Regions from separate parts of the Homo sapiens genome. Here region 1 is linked to region 2. The links are contacts of gene promoters, found by promoter capture Hi-C in blood cells and fetal thymus (Javierre and others, 2016). All regions are on one chromosome and are shown on one strand. Each heading gives the region's core, a stretch centred on a gene start or on the middle of the fragment in contact. The rest is flanking DNA. Distances are from core to core; before and after follow the strand shown.

Region 1 (4,972 bases), core at 2,157-4,656, 81 kb after region 2:
AAACCTTTCCTGTCAAGCCCACCTTCACTACTAAGTCACTCCTTGCTCCTAGATCAGATGGAAGAATGCTTTGGCATATCTCTACTGGAGCCCTTCTCACTTTACATTAAAGATAACTGTATATAGGTTAGCCCACTCCTCCTCCCTAATAGCATGTGGACCCTTTGTAGTTTCAGCAGTAAGCACAGGGCTTGGTTTCTATGAATACTTATTGAGTGAATGGATGAATGAATGCCAATCTTGTACATTGTTGATGTTCACCACATTGAACCCAGTTCTCAAACCAGGATCACTTGGGAGATTCTGAGTCAATAATTTGAAGGTCTGTATCATTCCTACTCAAAGTGTGGTCCATAAGCCAGCAGTGGCTATATTATCTGGGAGCTTGTTGCAAATGCAGAATATGTATTTTAACAAGATCCCCAGGCAATTCATATGCACATTACACTTTGAGCTATATTTTTAACAAGCTCCCAGGTGATTCCTTTGTAGCCCGGCTGCTGACCTGCATTTCGTAACCACTGTTCTAGACCTTCATTTGCTGAATGGAGTGGTCCCTGTGTGATTGCCTACAGGTTTCTTCTAGTCTCCCATTTTTCTTCCTAGTTAACAAAGCCCAAATTTTGTTTGGAAGGGTGATCAGCCCTTCACCCATCAGGCCTTTGCCTCAGGGAAGCTTGACCCCACCTTTAGACCCCATGTTGGGCCTGAGTAGTCCAAAGGCATATCCCATTCCCCTGGCCAGGGATTAGTTTAGGGATAGACATGTGACCAAATTCAGCTCAATAAAATGTGAGTCTGCAGGGGCAATCTAGAAAAAGTGTCCTCTTCCCTAAGAGAAAGCCACAGGAGGGTAAAAAAATGTCTCAGAACATTGTCCTGCCTAAACATGATGCCTCGGACATTCTGCTTCTGTCTTGCTACCTGCAGCACAAGGAAATCCAACACTGAGGGGTCACAGCAGAGGGACGGAAAGCACCTGGATCTTACAACATTGTTGAGCTCTTTTGTCTCTTGACTTCTAGTTATGAGATGTAATTTTCTTACTGTTAAAGTCATTTCTGTTCCTTGCAACCAAAAGCATTCATTGATACACTGAATATAGTACAATATTTATTCAATCAATAAATGCCTGGCAAATTACCCAAGTATGAGTAATTGTAGTTTGTCTCACAGCTATTCTTTCAAGTAAAAGTGATGCTCCATGACAAAAACGGCTAGTTTAGCTTGTAACACAAACAACTGCACAAGTGCTTTTCCTTCAGACAAGTATTGTACTTTCATATGTAACAGATGTATGTGCTTTATGCATGTTCCCATTTCATAACACAGAGTATTAGAAACATGTATACTTCAGGGTTGAGATCTCATAAAATGAGTAGTTTTCACAGCTTCATTGAGGACACTCTTAAATGAAACTGGCAGGTTTTTTTTTTTGAGTACTAGGAAATGGGTGGCAGTAAAGAATACAGTAACTATTAATATAGTGTGGTGCTACTGCCTTGAATTGTGCTAAGGCATCGGCAGTTTTCGTCATCATTGCTTTGACATCATCAGTGCAGGTGTCAATACAGTGAAAAAGGTAAATGGCATCTTGGTGTGATTATGGAAATAGATTGATCTAATGGACCGCCTGAAGTAGGCTTGGCCTCCCCAGGGATCTTAGAGAACTGCTATAGTAGGTGATTACTTGGGAAACAAAATCTCTTAGGAGAAGTTATGGATACAAAATGGTTATTGTTGAGGCCTGGAAGAGACTGAATTATGTGCCATATCATGGTTCTGACTCCTTTATTTGGGTCAATGTCACTATTGCCTCAGTGACTGCCAGCACATGGGGCTGGTAACAGAGGAGTCCTAGGAGTATCCAGGTGCTGAGGTGCTTGTGAGGCCTTAGGCTGGAGGGCACAGCAAATGGGCTCACCCAGTGCTACCAGTTACAGACACATTCACAAGACTGTGAATCCACAACTCAGTTCTTTATTTCCCTCTTCAGCCTGTTAGGTAATTTATCATGTACTCAGCTTAGAAACACACTATTTAGTGTAGTCTGATTTCTGTTTATAATTCTTAAAATACTCTTATTAGTGAAGTCTTCTAAGTTCAGCCTTTTCTTGAGCTAAAATTTCTCCGATGCTGAATAACTATTAAATAATGAATGTGTTGTTTCACTCGGAGGGGCAACAAGATTCCCTCAAGCAGCACCTACCCCCACTGCTTGCCAGAAACAGGCATTTTGGCAACACCACAAAGCACCAACTTTCGAGGTCTCACTGAGCCAGTCCTTGTTTCCAGGAAAGAAAACCCATGTTCTTGAGCCAGAACGAATGCTCTAAAGGCTGAGATTCTCTTTTCTCTTGCTAGAGAGGGAAGAATGACAATGGTTTGCTTGGATTCCTATAGTGGGAAAGCCATCTAGAAATTCTAGCCAGGCAGATATCTCTCACATGGAGATACTGTCCCTTGACTCATGAATGCACTGTGGAATTTGCCCTGGTGCCTTCTGAAGGGTTAAAGAAAAGGATCCTATTCCTTACTAGCAGTGATGCTGAGGCCTGAATCAAATTAGGGAAAAGGCCAGTCATGCTGTTGCCTGCTATATTTACTGAGATAATTTCTTAAAGCACAGAAGCAAGACAGACAATCCAAAAAATCGACATGAACTTGTTCTGCAGAGTAAAGATAGTTTCTGTCTTACTGCATTGCTATGAAAAAAAAAAAATTTTAGATCTGAATGTGGCAAGGAAACAAGCTCCCTAGATCGTCAGAGAAATGACTGAGTTTTAGCAAGTTTTTCCTAATTTTTGACCTAAAATGTTCTTTCCTTCAGTGCCTCCCTGGAGTTTTTGTTTTGTTTTATTTTTGTTTTCTAACACAAAAAAACACCTGCATCACACATTCTTACCCTCACTTTTGTGCTCTGTGTTGGAAACACAGGAGTTGTAATGATGTCTTTGGCTCTGGGCCTCTAAATCTTCATAGTGAATTCATCAAACTCTACACCTCAGGACCAGTCCAAAGCTTGGAAGGGAAAGAGGAGGAAGCAGGGGTTATAAACATACGCCAGGCAATTTTTTTCCCCGTATCTAGGTCATTTTACTTTTCTCTGTGTAAAATGCCTGGCCTTGGTGTTTTTGAGTGTGCATGTAAACTCAGACTTGGCAGTGGGGAACATGCAGTCAAACTTCTACAATATTCCTGGTGATTGGCCTTTTATATCCCTATCCTTGCTACTCCTTTTACCTTGACATTGAACATTTGCTCAGTACTTTAGCTCTTATTATTGTGTTGGTAGAACACCTTTTTCCCCTTAAGCACAGTTCTAGTACATTATTTCTGTGTTGTATTAGAAAAAGGGATGGAGCAATAAGTTGGGAGATTTTGCATCCTAGTTCTGCCATTAAATGGCCATAGATACTGGAAAAGTCATGTTCCTGTTCTGGGCTTCATCTGTAAAATGGGGATTGGAGAGAGGGCTAAATTTCCAGTGGTCCATAGATCTGGTGACGTGGTTTAGATATTTGTCTCCTCCAAATCTCGTGTTGCAATGTGATCCCCAGTGCTGAAGGTGGGGCCTAGTGGGAGGTGTTTGGATCATGGGGGCAGATTCCACATGAATGGCTTGGTGTCATGCCAACAGTAACGAGTGAGTTCTTGATCTATGATCTATTAGTTCACGTGAGAGCTGGTTGTTAAAAGAGCCCAGCACCTCTCCCAACTCTCCCTTGCTTTCCTCTCTCGCGTGTGATACACTGGCTCCCCTTTTGCCTTCTGCTATGAATATAAGCTTCCTGAGGCCGTCACCAGAAGCAAATGCTGGCTGTATGTTTCTTATACAGCCTGCAGAACTCTGAGCCCAATAAGCTTCTTTTCTTAATAAATTATCCAGTCTCAGGTATTCCTTTATAGCAATGCAAAATGGACTAACACAACTAACATTTTTAGCAAAGTCTTCTTTCCACCACTTCCTTCCACTGGGCATTTTAAGACAGCAGTGCTGAGATAGGCTTTTGGGAACCAAAACCTAGAGTTGATGGGTTCTAGGTCCTTGTCAAGCCTAATGTTAGTTTTTTTCTCTCTTTCTCCAAATGTCAGGTTTTCTATCACCCCACCACTTCAATAGTTTGCACTTAATTTACCGAAGCTTCTGTGCTTTCTAGGTGGTTCACATGGCTTCACTCCCCCTAACTCTCCGTGCTATATTCTAAACCTTTCACAGTCTAAAAGACATGGGCATTTGGTAATTTTTAAAGTACCTTCTTCATTTAAAAGAATGAAATGGAGTCTCAGAGAAGTCAGCTGATGGCAAGCTCTCACAAGTTGGGTCAAAGGACAGCAAGTAGGTGAGGCGAAGCCCTGAATTCCTCAAGTAGCACATCCTAGTGGCCGCATGAAGAGGCTTCTGGTGAAAGGGAAGAAAAGAGTGCTGCCAGTTTCTAGGGAAGCAGACGGGCATATGAGTGCTGCCCAGAGCTGCCACACACAGGGCCGCTGAGGGCCAACTTAAGTTCCTACTCCTGTGACCAAGAATGACAAGCTCCCACCTACATTGCTGGCCTACATGTTTGAGACATTCAAGCACTCAGGGAATACAAACATTTACTCTCTGGATGTGCGATGTTAGTGCTGCCTGTGACCAAAGGATGAACTAAAGAAAATAAAATTAAAAAGAAACAGTGAGAGAAGCCAGTTGGCTACCTGTAGAAAAAGAGGGGAATCTTGGTGGTTCTAAGGGAAACAAAGATAACAAACTAGGAAAATAATTCAAGAACACACAGACCAAGTAGTAATATACATGAAAATACAGCATGAAAGAAGATCCCTTCATATAAAAGTTAAACATTGAGAAGAGGATTTTATGTGGTGACTTAAAACTATTACCCCCTTCTATGTTTTCTCCAAGAGGCTAGTAAGGACTCATTTAAAACAAGCATTAGAAATAAGATTTGCCAATAAGATAATTGAAACAATA
Region 2 (5,414 bases), core at 2,603-5,102:
CAATGCCTGAGCTCACTGCAAAAGCAACAGGAGGTAGCTACAAAATTATTACATTTGTATAGTATATATTACAGTTAATTTTACGTAGTTACAATTTAATACTTCTTCGTTATGTTTTTTTACATCTCTTGACTGCAAATAGCACCACGTAGTTTCTTAAGTGTCTGTGTGCATAAGTTTTGATAAATTTTACCTTTTTATAATAGATTTGTGCATATTTTATGGTAGTAAATGACAAAATAGACTAGTGTCTACATACATTTTATGCATTCATGACATGCCTTTTTCTTAATTTTTTCAATATTTCTAGGCTACTTGGTTCGCCTGTGAGTTTTTTCAAACCATTCCAAATCTTCAAAACATTTTCCAATATATTTATTTTAAAAACCCACATATAAGTGGACCTACACAATTTAGTTCCATGTTGTTCAAGGGTCATCTGCATAAAAGGGGCTTAAAACAGTGCTTGGCACACAGTAAGTACTGAGAATTAATGTTGGTCAAACCATAATAGAGGCTTAGAAATCCAGCCCCATTAAAACACACATGGACGTTTCTGATGCCTGCTTTTCACTAGGGCTCCACAACCACCTGGTCAAATACTGTACTGGAATTAGATATATGTCTTCTTCCATAGCAGCAAAATTCTTCATACTGAATTGAATTCTACAATTCTGCTCATTATGATAATAATTATTCCCTCTCCCACTCCACCAATTCATTCAGATCCTATGACCAAAATTAATGAATTCACTCCTCTAGGTTTTAGAATTATGTAACTGCTACATGTTCCCACTGTTAGGCTGTAGCAACACAATATATCATACCTTTTGGATTTCTTCAGGCAACGCATGCATGGGAATGTGATGATCCATAACTTCCCAAAATATGGTGAGAGAGCTTTGAAGCCAAAGGAAATCTAAGAACATTGATGGCAACAGTCAGAACAGAAATAATGTAGAGAACATTCAAATTAAGATGCTTTATAAACTCCTAGAAGTATTTGGGGATGAATGGTGATAACTGTTTCAACAGATGCTTATTTCATCAGCTCAATGTTAGAAGGTACAGTTAGGGTTTTCTCCGTTAGTTATTGGGCCAATAGAACAGGAGAGAACTATAGAGACTGCTAAGTTAGAAAGAATATTTTCTCTTTTGTTAGAACTTTATAGTCTAATAATTTCTGTTGTGATTTACTACTAATTGTTTTTCAAATACATAATGACTAAAATTTTAAATACACATTTCAGTGTATTTTAAAAATCAAATATTTTTCTGAAATGCTGCTAGAAAAAGTATGAAAATATAGTATTTTAGCAGATGAAAAAAGCAATTGTGGCATGAATGCTGGATTAAATGATGAAATACAGAAAAAGAGCATTTAGAGATACCATATTAAATATGATATGCAAACACTGAACAGAAGAGTGATCAAAAAATAAGAAGCCAAGTGCCAATTTTATCTAAGATGGACATTTATATAATTTTATGCAGATATTTTACTTTTAACAGATTTTCTTTTTCTAATAAAAGCCATTCAATATAAAGGTCAGTCACTACTTTCATAAAACCAGAGGATAAATGGAGGAGCACTTTGGGTTTTTTGTTTTTTTTTTTAAATCCTTCCCTCACGAGTAAGGGCTGTTTATACATATCTAAGAAGTCAGGAGAAGGGCGAGGGCAGTGGCAGCAGAGTCAGATGATACAGGCACAATTCCATAGCAGGGAAGAAGGCATAGACAAGAGCAGTCTAAGAGTTCAAGAAAGGAAAAGATCTTATGTTTCAGATGAGAGGTGGGAGTTAGTGAAGGCTTCCTGAGGTTGCTTGTATTCAATCAGGGCAGGATTTTGACAAGAGACTGGAGAAGCAAAGTACTCTATCAGAGAGAGCAACCCCGGCCATACAGCAAGGTAGCAGGGAAACCGTAGTTGTCAAAAAGTCCTATAGTGGCATTATCTTTGTAAATGGTGCAACCACTAGTGGAAGAGAAGATTCCTTGTTCCCTGTGTTAGCACAAAGACTCATTTCAGTGAGTTGCTGTTTAAAACCAAAAACTAATGAGCTTTATGTCTTCCCACATAAAACATAATATGACATGTGTGGTAAAGTTAACTGAGGTCTGCAATGGAGGTACCATTAACCATGTCAACATAAGCCCAAACATAATCTGATGTTTGGCAGATTGTCATAATCATGTGGCAAGAGCCCAGAAGGCTCATTATTCTCATTTCTGTCATTTAATGGTGGATTTGCCATCAGTAAAATGAAATAGTAACTTCAACTCTATTGGGAGAATTTTCCAAAAAATTACCATCTAAACATCCTTTTAAAATTTCACCCATAAAGTTATCTGAGAGCACGGATCTAAATGACAGTATAAACAAAGCACCAGTAGAACAGTTTTTGTGTAGTGCCTTCATTGTCTGTGAATCTATTCCAACTTTATGGCCTTAGCATAAGAAGGGGAGGAATTGGCAGGTTCTGATTATCGGGGGGAAACTAAAAATTAAAAGTCCTGCCAACCCAGAAAATGCTCCACAATGCAGAAAGACAACAATTTTATTAGGCATTCAACTAGACTTTGATGCACATCACGGCTAATCTGCTAATGAGGTTACAAAGAGAGAAGGAAATCCCTCTTTTATACAGCCAAGGAGACACAATCCATTACACATTCTCAAGGAAACTGGTAACGTGTCCTCATGTAAGAGGGCTTAACATAGTGTTCTATACATTCTTTTATATTTCCTCTTTAATTCATCTGGTAATTGGGGTAACCACCTGTGTTAGCTAACGGCTTTCCTCCTAAGTAATGCACAGCTCCATAACGAAACAGGTGTTTACAATTAGGAATAACGCACCTAGGTTAAACTCCCAAAGTGACAAGGAGACTGGGGCCCTATCTTCCTTGATGTTTACATTTTAAAGAAATGGCTTCCAGGTCCTCAAGAAAAGCATTCCTAGGTCTTTAAAAACATTTGCATACATATTAAATAGAGGAAGCATTCACAAATACTAAGTTTCTCAAGAAAAAAGAAGGGTCTTTCCCTTTTGGCAACAGGGAAAATCTGTAATTTTTTAAATTTAGTCTTACATAGTTTTGCGTGTGTTATCAAACAAGTCCCTTTAATCCTTTCTCATTGCACGTATGTGGACCGCACTTTGGCAAGAGGTGCAGTGATAAGTGGCTGCAGCTACGTGGGTGTTTGTGAACCTCCTCTCTAACAAGATCACCGAAAAGACATTTTTTAAAATGCAGACACGTCCTTGTTCGTTTCCAATTCCGTTTCTCACACTAGTGTCACGTCAGGCCATTAACTCACGTTCAGCTTTCAAGCCCTTACGTAAAGAACCATTCCCATGGCGTGAATCACCCACAACGAGCAGGTCAGGGGCAGGTGAAGGCGGGAGTTCACATCCTAAGACTTTCCTGAAGCGGCAGGCTCTTCCACACAGAAACCAACCGCAAGGCCAGACAAAACTGCTGGAATGGCTTTCAAATCTGTCCCTTTCTAACCCCGTTCCCCCTGGACCTGCAGTGGCCGGAAGAGGAGGAGGAGGAGGGTGCGGGGGTGAGGAAGCAGAGCCGCGCGTTCCCCGGGGCTGGGAGGAAGGCGGACCGCGCCTGGGCCCCGCGGGCTGGCAGACACCAGGAAGGGGCCGCAGAGGAGCGTGGTGGCGGAGTCCAGACCCGGGGCCTCGTGCTCTCGCTGGGGCGCCGCGGCTCAGCTTTCTGGCTCTCTCCCCGGGTGCGAGCACGCCTCCACTCCGGAACTGCATTTGGAGGACCGGGTCATCCCAGGCTGAGGAAAGCCATCGTCCCTCACCTCGACTTCGACTAGGACGGGTGTGAAACGGCTTTCCCGGTCTCCCGGGCGACCGCGCCGCCAGTCGGCTGGACGTCAGGGCGCGGCGACGTCACGGCCCACGTCTGTCGTCAACGCTCCCCTGCACCGCCCAGGGTCTCACGCGCCGGGCGGAAGTGGGAAAACTGGTGGTGGGGCTCGGAAGGCTGGGCTAGTCTTACGCGGAATGCTGTGAGAGGGAGGGAAGGGGATCGAGGGATGAGGTGGGCGAGAGTGGGTCGGGTGCTTGGTAGCGACTGCTGAGATGGAGGGAGCTGTCCCAGCCTCGTGGGGGGTTGGAGAGAGGCACTGCCGGGAGTCGGGAGTCGGGAGCCTATAGCCCTACCTATCACCCCTTGCTCTGGGGCCTATGTGGTAGACACAGCAGTGAGCAGTTACTGTTCTTGAGCAGAGGAAAAAGAGATGCCTGTAGAGGTCATGGGTGTAAAGGGAAGTTCTGGTTTCAGTCATTACAGCCAGGACAAATTAATTGGGAAGGCGTTGGTGACATTTCCATTCTAGTCCAAAGTAGTGAAGATTAAGGGCTTAGTTCAAAAAGTATTTTGAGACCTCCTAGTCTACACTTTATTTATCGCAGGCTACCCACCCTTACACGTGACTAACTTCCCTTTGTTCATACATTCATTCATAAAACAAGTATTTATAGACCTACTACGCGACAAGCAGAGCAGCATACCGAGATAGGGTGATACTCTGTGACTGGTCAAGGCAGGAGCAGCCATTGGTGTAATTAGCAGGTGACTCATTCGTAGTCCAGATCTTGCCTTTCTGAGGATTATATAAGGTCGAAGTACAGTTCTTCCAAGAACCAAAGAAAACATCGATGGCTCTGTAGCAGGCAAAGAGACTGGTTTGCTATTGAATAAAATAAGATTAAGTAAATACAAAGAAAATTAATTGAACCTATAGATTTAGAGAAGTGATTAAATGACGCAGAGCAGTATCGGTACACCAAACTGCTTATTGATAACTACTAATTAATGACACCAGGAAGTACTGAACACTAGTGCCTTGTTCCTTGGCACTAAAAAGTCTAGTAGATGTGGCTGGGCGCGGTGGCTCGGGCCTGTAATTCCAGCACTTTGGGAGGCCAAGGCGGGCAGATCACAAGGTCAGGAGATCGAGATCATCCTGGCTAACACGGTGAAACCCCGTCTCTACTAAAAATACAAAAAAGTAGCCGGGCGTGGTGGCGGGCGCCTGTAGTCCCAGCTACTTGGGCTACTCGGGAGGCTGAGGCAGGAGAATGGCGTGAACCTGGGAGGCAGAGCTTACCCTGAGCCGAGATAATGCCACTGCACTCCAGCCTGGGCGACAGACCAAGACTCAGTCTCAAAAAAAAAAAAAAAAAAAAAAGTCTAGTAGATGTATCTTGTACATTTAACCTGACTGATATTTTTGCCCCAATGCCTACCCTTGATTTTCTGTTTCCACTCCCTCAAAGAAGAAAGGATTAAGAGGCCTAGAGGACAGTCAACCAAGTGGTCAACTATAACATGCTTATGAGAAGCCCAAATAACTTTCAGAGCTATTCATCCTCGTCATAT

What was found. Contacts are between HindIII fragments. The CHiCAGO score rates a contact against its expected background, and 5 or more counts as called.
Region 1: a fragment that was not itself captured here is called in contact with the fragment with the promoter of LEKR1 in region 2 in 1 of 17 cell types (non-activated CD4 T cells); the score reaches 5.2 in non-activated CD4 T cells.

What each region holds. Positions count from the first base shown.
Region 1 is chr3:156,743,522-156,748,493 of GRCh38, reverse strand. It overlaps LINC00886 (long intergenic non-protein coding RNA 886), which reads left to right. Exons shown (of 3, transcript NR_038387.1): 3 at 1-1,151. Among named protein-coding and RNA genes, the nearest start is that of TIPARP-AS1, 70 kb to the right of the region's middle. The HindIII fragment of the contact is 766 bases long and covers 3,024-3,789 here.
Region 2 is chr3:156,824,791-156,830,204 of GRCh38, reverse strand. It overlaps LEKR1 (leucine, glutamate and lysine rich 1), which reads right to left and starts at 3,852. Exons shown (of 13, transcript NM_001004316.3): 1 at 3,829-3,852; 2 at 828-919. The coding sequence starts at 875. RefSeq lists a silencer at 2,711-3,005 and an enhancer at 3,320-3,379. The HindIII fragment of the contact is 11,302 bases long and covers 1-5,414 here.